Linked DNA regions of Homo sapiens: region 1 is linked to region 2. The links are contacts of gene promoters, found by promoter capture Hi-C in human tissues and cell types (Jung and others, 2019). All regions are on one chromosome and are shown on one strand. The core of a region is centred on a gene start or on the middle of the fragment in contact, and the rest is flanking DNA. Distances in the headings are between cores, read along the strand shown.

Region 1 (6,154 bases), core at 313-2,812, 1.3 Mb before region 2:
ATACTCATGTTATAATCAGCTCTCCTTTAACAGATAGGAAATGAACCTATATTTGTCCTAAGCTTTAAAGGATGCTGGTGAGGAAATGCTAAAGATGGTACATGTTCAATATAGTGTTAGGGAGATAAATTAAGTTTCAACAAAATTGTTTCTCTTCAGTGAATATATTTAAGATTATATGTATAAGATATATCTTAGGGGCCTGGGCAAGATGGCTGAACAGGAACAATTCCATTGTGCAGCTCCCAGCGAGATCAATGCAGAAGGTGGGTGATTTCTGCATTTCCAACTGAGGTACCTGGCTCATCTCATTGGGACTGGTTAGACAGTGGGTGCAGCCCACGGAGAGCAAGCAGAAGCAGGGTGGGGCGTTGCCTCACCCGTGAAGTGCAAGGGGTCGGGGAACTCCCTCCTCTAGCCAAGTGAATCCATGAGGGACTGTGCCGTGAGAAACGGTGCATTCCGGCCCAGATACTATGCTTTTCCCATGGTCTTTGCAACCTGCAGACCAGGAGATTCCCTCAGGTGCCTACACCACGAGGGCCCTAGGTTTCAAGCACAAAACTGGGCAGCCATTTGGGCAGACACCAAGCTAGCTGCAGGAGTTTTTTTTCATACTTCAGTGGCACTTGGAATGCCAGCAAGACAGAACCATTTGCTCCCCTCGAAACAGGGCTGAAGCCAGGGAGCCAAGTGGTCTACCTCAGCGGATTCCACTGCCACGGAACCCAGCAAGGTAAAGATCCACTGGCTTCAGATTCTCACTGCCAGCACAGCAGTCTGAAGTCGACCTGGGATGCTCAAGCTTGGTCGGGGGAGGGGCGTCCGCCATTACTGAGGCTTGAGTAGGCGGTTTTCCCCTCAGTGTAAACAAAGCCGCCAGGAAGTTGGAACTGTGTGGAACCCACCATGTCTCAGCAAAGCCGCTGTAGCCAGACTGCCTCTGTAGATTCCTCTTCTCTGGGCAGGGCATCTCTGAAAGAAAGGCAGCAGCCCCAGTCAGGAGCTTATAGATAAAACTCCCATCTCCCTGGGACAGAGCACCTGTGGGAAGGGGCGGCTGTGGGTGCAGCTTCAGCAGACAGATGTTCCTGCCTGCCAGCTCTGAAGAGAGCAGCAAATCTCCCAGCATAGCGCTCAAGCTTTGCTAAGGGACAGACTGCCTCCTCAAGGGGGTCGCTGACCCCCATGCCTCCTGACTGGGAGACACCTCCTAGCAGGGGTTGACAGACACCTCATACAGGAGATCTATGACTGGTATCTGGTGGGTGCCCCTCTGGGACAAAGCTTCCAGAGGAAGGAACAGGCAGCAATCTTTGCTGTTTGGCAGACTCTGCTGGTAATACCCAAGCAAACAGGGTCTAGAGTGGACCTCTAGCAAACTCCAGCAGACCTGCAGCAGAGGGGCGTGAATGGTAGAAGGAAAACTAACAGAAAGGAATAGCATCAACATCAACATAAAAGGACACCCACGCAGAAACCCCATCTGAAGGTCACTAACATCAAAGACCAAAGGTAGATAAATCCACAAAGATGAGGAAAAACCAGTGCAAAAAGCCTGAAAATTCCCAAAACCAGAACACCTCTTCTTCAAAGGATCACAACTCCTCGCCAGCAAGGGAACAAAACTGGATGGAGAATGAATTTGATGAATTGACAGAAGTAGGCTTCAAAAGGTGGGTAATAACAAACTCCTCCGAGCTAAAGGAGCATGTTCTAACCCTTTCTATTCCTTCAAATTAGCTCTGGAAAGGACTACAGAAAGCTGGACTGTAATTTCCCTTTGCTTACTCAGGTCATCTAAACCTAAATAGTCTGAGTATATTGCCTTAATCAGAATCACATTTTCCCCTCTTTAATTCCTTCCCCCATAATAAAGGAAGCTAAGAACCTTGAAAAAAGGTTAGACAAATTACTAACTAGAATCACCAGTTTAGAGAAGAACATAAATGACCTGATGGAGCTGAAAAACACAGCTCCAGAACTTTGTGAAGCATACTCAAGTATCAATAGCCAGATTGATCAAGCGGAAGAAAGGATATCAGAGATTGAAGATCAACTTAAAGAAATAAAGCGTGAAGACAAGAATAGAGAAAAAAGAATGAAAAGGAATGAACAGTGTCTCCAAGAAATATGGGGCTATGTGAAAAGACCAAACCTACATCTGATTGGTGTACCTGAAAGTGACGGGGAGAATGGAACCAAGTTGGAAAACACTCTTCAGAATATTATCCAGAAGAACTTCCCCAACCTAGCAAGACAGGCCAACATTGAAATTCAGGAAATATAGAGCATACCACAAAGATATTCCTTGAGAAGAGCAACCTCAAGACACATAATCGTCAGATTCAACAAGGTTGAAATGAAGGAAAAAATGTTAAGGGCAGCCAGAGAGAAAGGTTGGGTTACCCACAAAAGGAAGCCCATAAGACTAACAGTGGCTCTCTCTGCGGAAACCCTACAAGCCAGAAGAGAATGGGGGGCCAATATTCAGCAGTCTTAAATAAAAGAATTTTCAACCCAGAATTTTATATACAGCCAAACTAAGCTTCATAAGTGAAGGAGAAATAAAATCCTTTAGGGACAAGCCAATGCTGAAAGATTTTGTCACCACCAGGCTTGCCTTACAAGAACTCCTGAAGGAAGCACTAGACATGGCAAGGAAAAACTTGCACCAGCCACTGCAAAAACATAGCAAATTGTAAAGACCATTGACACTATGAAGAAACTGCGTCAACTAATGGGCAAAATAACCAGCTAGCATCCTAATGACAGGATCAAATTCACACATAACAATATTAACCTTAAATGTACATGGGTTAAATGCCCCAATTAAAAGAAATAGACTAGCAAATAGGATAATGAGTCAAGACCCATCGGTGTGCTGTATTCAGGAGACCCATCTCACATGCAAAGGCACAGATAGGCTCAAAATAAAGGGATGGAGGAATGTTTACCATGCAAATGGAAAGCAAAAAAAGCATGGGATGCAATCCTAGTCTCTGATAAAACAGACTAAACCAACAAAGATAAAAAAAGACAAAGAAGGTTATTACGTAATGGTAAAGGGATCAATGCGACAAGAAGAGCTAACTATCCTAAATATATATGCACCCAATACAGGAGCGTCCAGATTCATAAAACAAGTTCTTAGAGACCTACAAAGAGACTTAGACTCCCACACAATAATAGTGGGAGACTTTAACTCCCCACTGTCAATATTAGACAGAACAATGAGACAGAAAATTAACAAGGATAATCAGGACTTGAACTCAGCTGTGGACCAAGCAGGCCTAATAGACATCTACAGAACTCTCCACCCCAAATCAACAGAGTATACATTCTTCTTAGCACCACATCACACTTATTCTAAAATTGACCATATAATTGGAAGTAAAACACTCCTCAGCAAATGCAAAAGAACAGAAATCATAATAAACAGTCTCTCAGACCACAGTGCAATCAAACTAGAACTCAGGATTAACAAACTCACTCAAAACGGCACAACTACATGGAAACTGAACAACCTGCTCCTGAGTGACTACTCGGTAAATAATGAAATTAAGACAGACATAAATAAGTGCTTTGAAACCAATGAGAACAAAGACACAACGTACCAGAATTTCTGGGACACATTTAAAGCAGTGTGTAGAGGGAAATTTCTAACACTAAATGCCCGCAGGAGAAAGCAGGAAAGATCTAAAATTGGCACCCTAACATCTCAATTAAAAGAACTAGAGAAGCAAGAGCAAACAAATTCAAAAGCTAGCGGAAGACAAGAAATAACTAAGATCAGAGCAGAACTGAAGGAGATAGAGACACACAAAACCCTTAAAAAAATCAATGAATGCAGGAGCTGGTTTTCTGAAAAGATCAACAAAATGGATAGACCACTAGCTAGACTAATAAAGAAGAAAAGAGAGAAGAATCTAATAGACATAATAAAAAATGATAAAGGGGACATCACCACTGATTTCACAAAAATACAAACCACCATCAGAGAATACTATAAACACCTCTACACAAATTAACTACAAAATCTAGAAGAAATGGATAAATTCCTGGACACATACACCCTCCCAAGACTAAACCAGGAAGAGGTCGAATCCCTGAATAGATCAATAACAAGTTCTGAAATTGAGGCAGTAATTAATAGCCTACCAACCAAAAAAAGCCCAGGACCAGACAAATTCACAGGCGAATTCTACCAGAGGTACAAAGAGGAGCTGCTGCTATTCCTTCTGAAACTATTCCAAAGAATAGAAAAAGAGAGACTGCTCCCTTACTCATTTTATGAAGCCAGCATCATCCTGATACGAAAACCTGGCAGAGACACAACAAAAAAAAGAAAATTTCAGGCCAGTATCCGTGATGATCATCAGTGTAAAAATCCTCAATAAAATACTGGCAAACCGAATCCAGCAGCACATGAAAAAGCTTATCTACCTCAATCAAGTCAGCTTCATCCCTGGGGTGCAAGGCTGGTTCAACATATGCAAATCAGTAAACATGATCCATCACATAAACAGAACCAATAACAAAAACCATGTGATTATCTCAAAAGATGCAGAAAAGGCCTTCAGTAAAATTCAACGCCCCTTCATGCTAGAAACTCTCAATAAACTATCTATTGATGAAACATATCTCAAAATAGTAAGGGCTATTTATGACAAACCCACAGCCAATATCATACTGTATGGGCAAAAGCTGGAAGCATTCCCTTTGTAAACCAGCACAAGACAAGGATGCCCTCTCTCACCACTCCGATTCAACACACTACTGGAAGTTCTGGCCAGGGCAATCAGGCAAGAGAGAGAAATAAAGCATATTCAAATAGGAAGGGAGGAAGTCAAATTGTCTCTGTTTGCAGATGACAAGATTGTATATTTAGAAAACTCCATCATCTCAGCCCAAAATCTCCTTAAGCTGATAAGCAACTTCAGCAAAGTCTCAGGGTACAAAATCAATGTGCAAAAATCACAAGCATTCCTATATGCCAATAATAGCCAAATCGTGAGTGAACTCCCATTCACAACTGCTATAAAGAGAATAAGATACTTAGGAATACAACTTACAAGAGGTTTGAAGGACTTTTTCAAGGAGAACTACAAACCACTGCTCAAGGAAATAAGGACACAAACAAATGGCAAAACATTCCATGCTTATGGATAGGAAGAATCAATATTGTGAAAAAGACCATACTGCCCAAAGTAATTTATAGATTCAGTGCTATCCCCATCAAGCTACCAATGACTTTCTTCACAGAATTAGAAAAAACTACTTTAAATTTCATATGGAACCTAAAAAGAGCCCATATAGCCAAGACAGTCCTAAGCAAAAAGAACAAAGCTGGAGGCATCACGCTACCTGACTTCAAACTATATTACAAGGCTACAGTAACCAAAACAGCATGGTACTGGTACCAAAACAGATATATAGACCAATGGAACAAAACAGAGGCCTAATAAATAACACCACACATCTACAGCCATCTGATCTTTGACAGACCTGACAGAAACAAGCAATGGGGAAAGGATTCCCTATTTAATAAATGGTGGTGGGAAAACTGGCTAGCCATATGCAGAAAACTGAAACTGGACCTCTTCCTTACACCTTATACAAAAATTAATTCAAGATGGATTAAAGACTTAAACATAAGACCTAAAACCATAAAAACCCTAGAAGAAAACCTAGGCAGTACCATTCAGGACATAGGCATGGGCAAAGACCTCATGACTAAAACACCAAAAGCAATGGCAACAAAAGTCAAAATAGACAAATGGGATCTAATTAAACTAAAGAGCTTCTGCACAGCAAAAGAAACTATCATCAGATGAACAGGCAACCTACAGAATGGGAGAAAATTTTTGCAATCTATCCATCTGACAAAGGGCTAATATCTAGAATCTGTGAGGAACTTAAACAAATTTACAAGAAAAAAACAACCCCATCAAAAAGCGGGCAAAGGGGCCGGGTGCAGTGGCTCACGCCTGTAATCCCAGCACTTTGGGCTTTGGGAGGCCAAGGCAGGTGGATCACGAGGTCAGGAGATGGAGAGCGTCCTGGCTAACACAGTGAAACCCCGTCTCTACTAAAATGTACAAAAAAAAAAAAAAATTAGCCGGGCATGGTGGTGGGCACCTGTAGTCCCAGC
Region 2 (7,073 bases), core at 525-3,024:
TAATTAATATATAACCTTTGGCGTTTGGCGTTGGGGCTTTTGAGTACTTTTCTTTCTTTCTTTTTCTTTTTTCTTATATAGGGTCTCCACTTTTTCTCTTCCTTTCAGGATATTGACAATTTTTATTCAACGCATTCTCCAAACCTCTTTTCCCCAGCTCAGATCTTCTGTACCAGGGCAGTTAATTACGATTACCTTAGACATTCCACATAACCCTTAAGAGAAGCTTACGAAAAGGGGTTTCTTTAAATCAACCACCAAGAGCACACACACCAGTCCCACTCCCCTTCCCCTCCTCTGGGAGCACCCCCCACCCCAGGCCTTCTAGCTCTACATTGCCAAAACTACACAACTCCCACTCCACCATAGCAAAGCTTTCTCAGGAAAGAGCACCACACAGCATCCCCTTTCCTCTCCCTGGAAACAGCGTTAACCAGGCCGGCAGCCTCAAAGCGCGCTTCCTGGATCCTTTGACCAGGATGCGCCAGGGGCCTGGGCTCCCGCTGGACACTGGCGCGCTCAGACTTTGAATAGGGCGTCAGGCGAAGAATGGCCAAACCCAGGGCAATTTCCGGGGTGGGGGGGGGGGGGCGCTTAGACTGCTGGTAAACTGTACCACGTCCACTCACCACCACCCAAGCCCTCCAACCCACAGCCAGGCCCGCCGCACTTAGGACTTGAAGTTTCAATGCTCCCTGCAAGGTGGGGCCATCCGGGCAGCGGCGAAATACAGGTTTTGGGCGGGGGCAGCCACAGCACCCAACCCTCTTGCAAAGCTGTGCCTCCCGAATTAGGGACAAACTCCCTGGGATTTGTTTTCTGCGGGAGAAAAGGCGGAGGGATGTGGGGGGAGTAAGGTGTGGTGGCGATTCGTGGAGGGCAAGGGTAAGGGGCAGTTACAGCCACATCTCTGCCCTGGACAGAGCCGGGTCCAGGGGCCGCGGGCCTGCCCGCCGCTCGGTTGTCAGCATCTCCTGTAGCCGGCGCGCACACTGCGCGCAAACACGCCCCCCAAAATCCCCACAACCTGTCAAACGGGCCCTACAGCTCGGAGCCTCCTGGCAGGAGGGAGAAACTTGTACCCAGACTCGCCAGCAGCCAGAATGCTGCTGTTTGCCTATGAGAACAATTTTTAAAGCGGAAATAATCATGATAATGAAATAAAAGGATCAAAAGCATCTTGACTTTTTCTGAGCCTTTGGGAAAAATAAAATTGTTGTTTTCTACCAGCCCGCGAATATTCCCAGTCGCCCGTGGCGACGCGGGGGTGGGGTCGGCGCTCAAGGCAGAAAGCGCGAGGCAGGTGCCCAGGAGAGCCGCGCAGAAGGGGACTGACTGGGGGGCCCTGGTCCCCGACGCCATTTGAGGGGCAGCGGCGCCCGCCTTACCTGTGGATGCAGTTTCCATGGCAACGGGCGACTGCCGGGCGGGGCCCGAGCCGGCTTCCCGCGACGCCGCTTCCCGGGCCCTGGCGCCCAACCCCGGGCTGGGCTCCCCAGCCTGCGGCGCCGGCGTGGCCCCTTTCGGCGTCACCGCTTCGTTCTCCCCCTCCCCCCGGTGCCTGAGCCACTGGGACCCGGGGCCGGCCAGCGGCAGCAGCTCGTCCTGCGGATCCCCCGGCGCGGCCATGGCTGGCGGTCCCCCGGCGCGGCGACGGCGGCTTGGCTGGGCAGAGGCTCGGTGGCTGCGCGGGCGCTCCCTGCTGCTGTCCCCGGAGGGACTCGGCGCTCAGGGAAGCTGCGGTGTCTCAGCGTCGCCGCCGCCTCTGCTGCAACTCCGCCGAGCCGCTGCCTGCCGCTCTTCCCGCTTCAGCTCCTCCTTCTCCCCCCTCCTCTTCCTCCGGCCCCGCCGCGGCCGCTGCCTGCGCTCCTCCTCCTACTCCACTCGCTGCTGCCGCCGCTGCTTCGCTATTCCCAATCCTGTTATTACGCAGGTGAAAATGGCCTGCTTGGTCCGGGTCCTCCTGGGCACGTCAGCCCCCAACCTGCAAATGGCAGGCCCCGGTTAGGGGATGTGCCAAATCCACTCGAATCTTCCTCTCGTTTGGGGAGGAAAAAAAAGGAAGAACCAGCAAGTAGCAGCAGCCACCAGCAGCGTCGCCTTCCCAACTGAGAAAGTTAAGCCCCGACTGGTGTCCTGGGTCCCGAGGCAAAGAGGGAAAGCTAGAGAACTCAGGGCCACAGTTCTGAGAGTGACCAGTATGAGTTGTGGAGGGGACACAGGTCTGAACGGGGAAGGGGTGGAGATGGGTTCTGATGGCAGATGGAGACCAGGGAAGCTGCAACCCCGCGGTTAAATCCTGCGTTTCCAGAATGGGCCTGAAAATAGTGGAGTAAAGAAATGAGTTATCAGGACAGCCTCCAAAAAAAGCTTAACAGATCTCACCCTGACCAGCCCTGAGGGCAAACAGGGTGTCAATAGGCAAGGACAAAAGCTGTACATTTGCTTTCAGAAACACTGAGCCAAGGCCATCCTAATCATAAGCTGTCTGTGCAGTCCGTTGTATTTCAGAATTTGGACATTCCATGAAGCTTGCATCTTTTTCTTTACAGTTCACTGTGATAAAATGGAAGATAGTCAGCAAATAAACCCAAACTCAGAGGAGGAAAGTGACTTGCCTTATCATATGTTGTGCCCATACGAAGACCCATCTTTTCAAATGTCTTGTGTTTTATTGGTTCCCAAGTTGTTTATATAATAAAATAATGTGCCTTTAAAAACTAAGATTCACCACAACACACAGGGTGAAGGAATAGGTTTTTCTGCTGTTTCTTCTCTAGGAAAGGTGGGCGCAGACGGTACCGCACACACTGTGAGACTGTGGGACTCTTGGCCACCATGCGCATCTTGAGGATTTCATACCTGTCCATTGGTATATTCAAAGGCCAACTTCAGGACCATTCAGGTGCTCCTCAATAATGCTAAAATGAAAAAGCCCAGAGTCTGCCTAATCTTTTGTTCTGCTAGTGCACTAATGTTCAAAAGATGACAATAAATTAGAGAAAAATCATTCACTAAACAATAAATATGGCCTCCTGAAGCCAGATATCCCTGGAAATCTGATGGTCACCAAAATTTTACATTTTTGACATACTCAAAATTATGTCTCATGATGGAAATATTCACTATCTAGATTGTGGTTATAGCTTCACAGGTGCAAACATATGTCAAAACTTATTGTTTACTGTAAATATGAACAATTTAATGTGTTGTCAGTTATAACTCAATAAATCTATAAAAATAATCTCATCCAAAAACAACAAAATAATTGGTTATCATGAATCATAATGATTTTTAAACATCTTTCCATGGGAAAACAAGAGTGTATTTAAAAAACCGTTAAGTTGAAAAGCTTATTCCACTGCTGTATTTCCATGGAGCTTAATCCTGTCTTGTAATTAGAGGGCACTTGTAAGTTTTTTCAAATCTATTACTTAGTATTCCCTAAAGCATCAGAAATACTAGATGGGAATTTCTCATGGTTTTATTACTGATAACAAGACAAGAACATAGACAATTCTAATGATATAACCTTAAAGTGGTTATTGATGAATACTAATATTTGAGAATTGCTATGCAAAGGAGTTACATACAAAATAATATGAAGTATATTCTTTTGTTTCTCTGAGAAACATGAATGAAAGTCATCATTAAAAAACTGGGAGACCTAAGCAAGCCTCTGTGTTTCCTTATGATTAATAGATAGGAAGTTTGGGGATATGATTCTAATTATTTGTCAATTTCTTTCATACTAATCAATACTCTCATTGAGAATGTGTGAAGGAAATAGCCAGTTAAATCTATTTAGAGTGTAGTTGTTAAAGGAAATTGAACATTATTGACAGTTCCATTTTGATAAAGTATTCTATTTTACACTGCTGAAAAGAGATGAGCACAAGATTTCAGTGTTAGCAATTTTCATTACTAACTTTCCTTATTAGACTCCACCTTTGGATGTATAAAAATTATCTATTTGGGGGAAGAAATTTTCAGGTTTATGCTATGACTTGAAATGATTCATGTTTATTAATATTATTTATTTTGCACCGCTCTGAACTGACAAAGCTTGACTAATTTGAAGATTTATGGGCAAAACACACAGTCGGCAATGGGATTCTGGGGCTTACATAGTTGCTCTAAGTTACGAATTACTCTAAAATGCTTTTCAGACACAGAGAAAATAGGATTGTCACTTTTAAAAGGTTCTTAGCAAGAAGAGTTGAGACAAAAGAACTGTCACGTTTTGTTTTCAGCTTTTGTTTTTTGGAAAAGAAGTTTTGTTCATCATTTGAAAAGAAGAAATGAGGAGCATTTATTTAGCACTAGCTTCTTAACTTAGTCCAAACCATATATCATGGGGAAACACGGTGTGGGGACATGCAGGAAGAGCGCCACAAGTAACAAGCTTTAACCAAGATGAAATTCTTTCCAGCCTCAATATTAAAGTTACCTAACATCTCTACAACCCAGGTTCCTCAACTGTAACCTGGAGATTTTTTTTAAAATTTTTGTGGGTGGGTACATAGTAGGTGTATATATTTATGGGGTATATGAGATATTTTAATACAGGCATACAATGAATAATAATCATATCATGGTAAATAAGGTATCCATCACCTCAAGCTTTTATCCTTTCTTTGTGTTACAAACAATCCGATTATAATCTTTTTGTTGTTTTGAAATATAAAATAAATTATTGTTGACTGTAGGTGCCCCATTGTGCCAGTGAATACTAGATCTTATTCACTCGTATCTAACTATATTTTTATATCTACCATTAACTGTCCCACCTCCATGCCCCTCAGGCCCCTGCCAGCCTCCCAGCACTACACTTCTTGGCCTCTGGGAAACCGTTCTACTCTCTATCTCCATGAATTCAACTGTTTTAATTTTAATTTACCACACATAAGTGAGAACATAAGAAGTTTGTCTTTCTGTGCTTGGCTTATATCACTTAACAGATGTCCTCCAGTTCCATCCATGTTGTGCAAATGACAGGATCTCATTCTTTTTTATGACTGAATAATAGTCCATTGTGTATATGTACCACATTTTCTTTATCCATTTGTCTCTTGATGAACACATGGGTTGCTTCCAAATTTTGGCTAGTGTGAATAATATAGTGCTGTGATAAACGTTGGAGTGCAGATATCTCTTCAATATACTTTTGCTTTCTTTTGGGTATATACCCAACAAACAAACAAAAACAAGAAAACATTGAAACACTGGGGAAACTCTCCAGGATATTGGTTTGGGCAAGCATTTCTAGAGTAATGCCCCATAAGCACAGGCAACCAAAGCAAAAATGGACAAATGGGATCACATCAAGTTAAAAATCTTCTGCACAGCAAAAGAAACAACTAAGTGAAGAGACAACCCACAGAATAAGAGAATAAAATTGCAAATTATCCATCTGACAAGGGATTAATAACCATAATATATAAAAAACTGGGATTGCTGGATCATATGGTAGCTCTAGTTTTTTTAATTGGAGTCAGATGACATCTCATTGTAGTTCTGATTTGCATTTCTCTAATGATCAATGATATTGAGCACCTTTTCATATGTCTGTTTGCTATTTATTTGTATGTCTTCTTTTGAGTAATGTCTATTTAGATATTTTGCCCATTTTTAATTGGATCATTATATTTTTTCTTAATAGAGCTATTTGAGCTCGTTATATATTATGGTTATTAATCCCTTGTCAGATGGATAATTTGCAATTTTTTTCTCTTATTCTGTGGGTTGTCTCTTCACTTAGTTGTTTCTTTTGCTGTGCAGAAGATTTTTAACTTGATGTGATCCCATTTGTCCATTTTTGCTTTGGTTGCCTGTGCTTATGGGGTATTACTCTAGAAATCTTTGCCCAGACCAATATCCTTGAGACTTTCCCCAATGTTTCAATGTTTTCTTGTTTTTGTTTGTTTGTTTGTTTGAGACTGAGTCTTGGTCTGTCACCCAGGGTGGAGTGCAGTGGCGTGATCTTGGCTCACTGCAACCTCCACCTCCCAGGCTCAAGCAAATCTCTTACCTCTGCCTCTCGAGTAGCTGGGATTACAGGTGCCTGCCACCATGCCTGGCTAATTTTTGTGTTTTTAGTAGAGACGAGGTTTCACTATGTTGGCCAGGCTGGTCTTGAACTCCTGACCTCAAGTGATCCGCCCATCTCCGCCTCCCAAAGTGCTGGGATTACAGGTATGAGCCACCACATCTATTTGGCCCCCAGTGTTTTCTTTTAATGGTTTCCTAGCTTGAGGTCTTCAGTATAAGTCTTTCATCTATTTTGATTTGATTTTTGTATACAACAAGAGTTAGGGGTCTAGTTTCATTCTTTTGCATATGAATGTAATGTTGTCCCAGAACTATTTTTATTAAAGAGACTGTCCTTTCCCCAGTGTGTGTTCTTGGCACCTTTTTCAAAAATGAATTCACTGCAGATTAATGGATTTGTTTCTGGCTTCTCTACTCTGTTCCATTGGTCTATTTTTTTTTATGCCAGTACCATGCTGGCATGGTTTTGGTTACTATAGCTCTGTAGTACAATTCGAAGTAGGTAATGTGATTCTTCCAGTTTTGTTCTTTTTGCTCAGGGTGGCTTTTGCTATTCTGGGTCTTTTATGGTTCCACATAAATTTTAGGATTATTTTTCCTATTTCTGTGATGAGTATCATTGGTATTTTGATAGATATTTGATTGAATCTATAGATTGCTTTTGGTAGTAGGGATGTTTTAACAATACTGACTCTTTCAATCCATGAACATGGAATATCCTTCCATTTTTGTGTGTCCTCTTCAATTTCTTTCAGCAATGTTTTATAGCTTTTATTGTAGAGATCTTTCACTTCTTTGATTAAGTTTATTCCTAGGTATTTTATTTTATTTGCAGTTATTGTAAATGGGATTACTTTCTTGATTTCTTTTTCAGATTGTTTGCTGTTTGCATATAGAAATGCTACTGATTTTGGGCCGGGTGCCGTGGCTCACACCTGTAATCCCAGCACTTTGGGAGGCCAAGGCAAGCAGATCATGAGGTCAGGAGATCAAGACCATCCTGGCTAACATGGTGAAACCCC

Evidence for each region. The method cuts DNA at HindIII sites, captures the fragments that hold promoters and counts their contacts. A contact is called where the count stands out against the background at its distance.
Region 1: a contact is called between a fragment that was not itself captured here and the fragment with the promoter of RTN1 in region 2, in 1 of the 25 tissues and cell types used here (small bowel).

Annotation. Positions count from the first base shown.
Region 1 is chr14:58,525,061-58,531,214 of GRCh38, forward strand. All of the region lies in intron 29 of KIAA0586, which reads left to right. Among named protein-coding and RNA genes, the nearest start is that of KIAA0586, 100 kb to the left of the region's middle. The HindIII fragment of the contact is 3,859 bases long and covers 1-3,492 here.
Region 2 is chr14:59,869,002-59,876,074 of GRCh38, forward strand. RTN1 (reticulon 1) reads right to left here and starts at 1,775. Exons shown (of 9, transcript NM_021136.3): 1 at 1,389-1,775. The coding sequence starts at 1,629. RefSeq lists a silencer at 1,684-1,783. The HindIII fragment of the contact is 4,177 bases long and covers 1-2,941 here.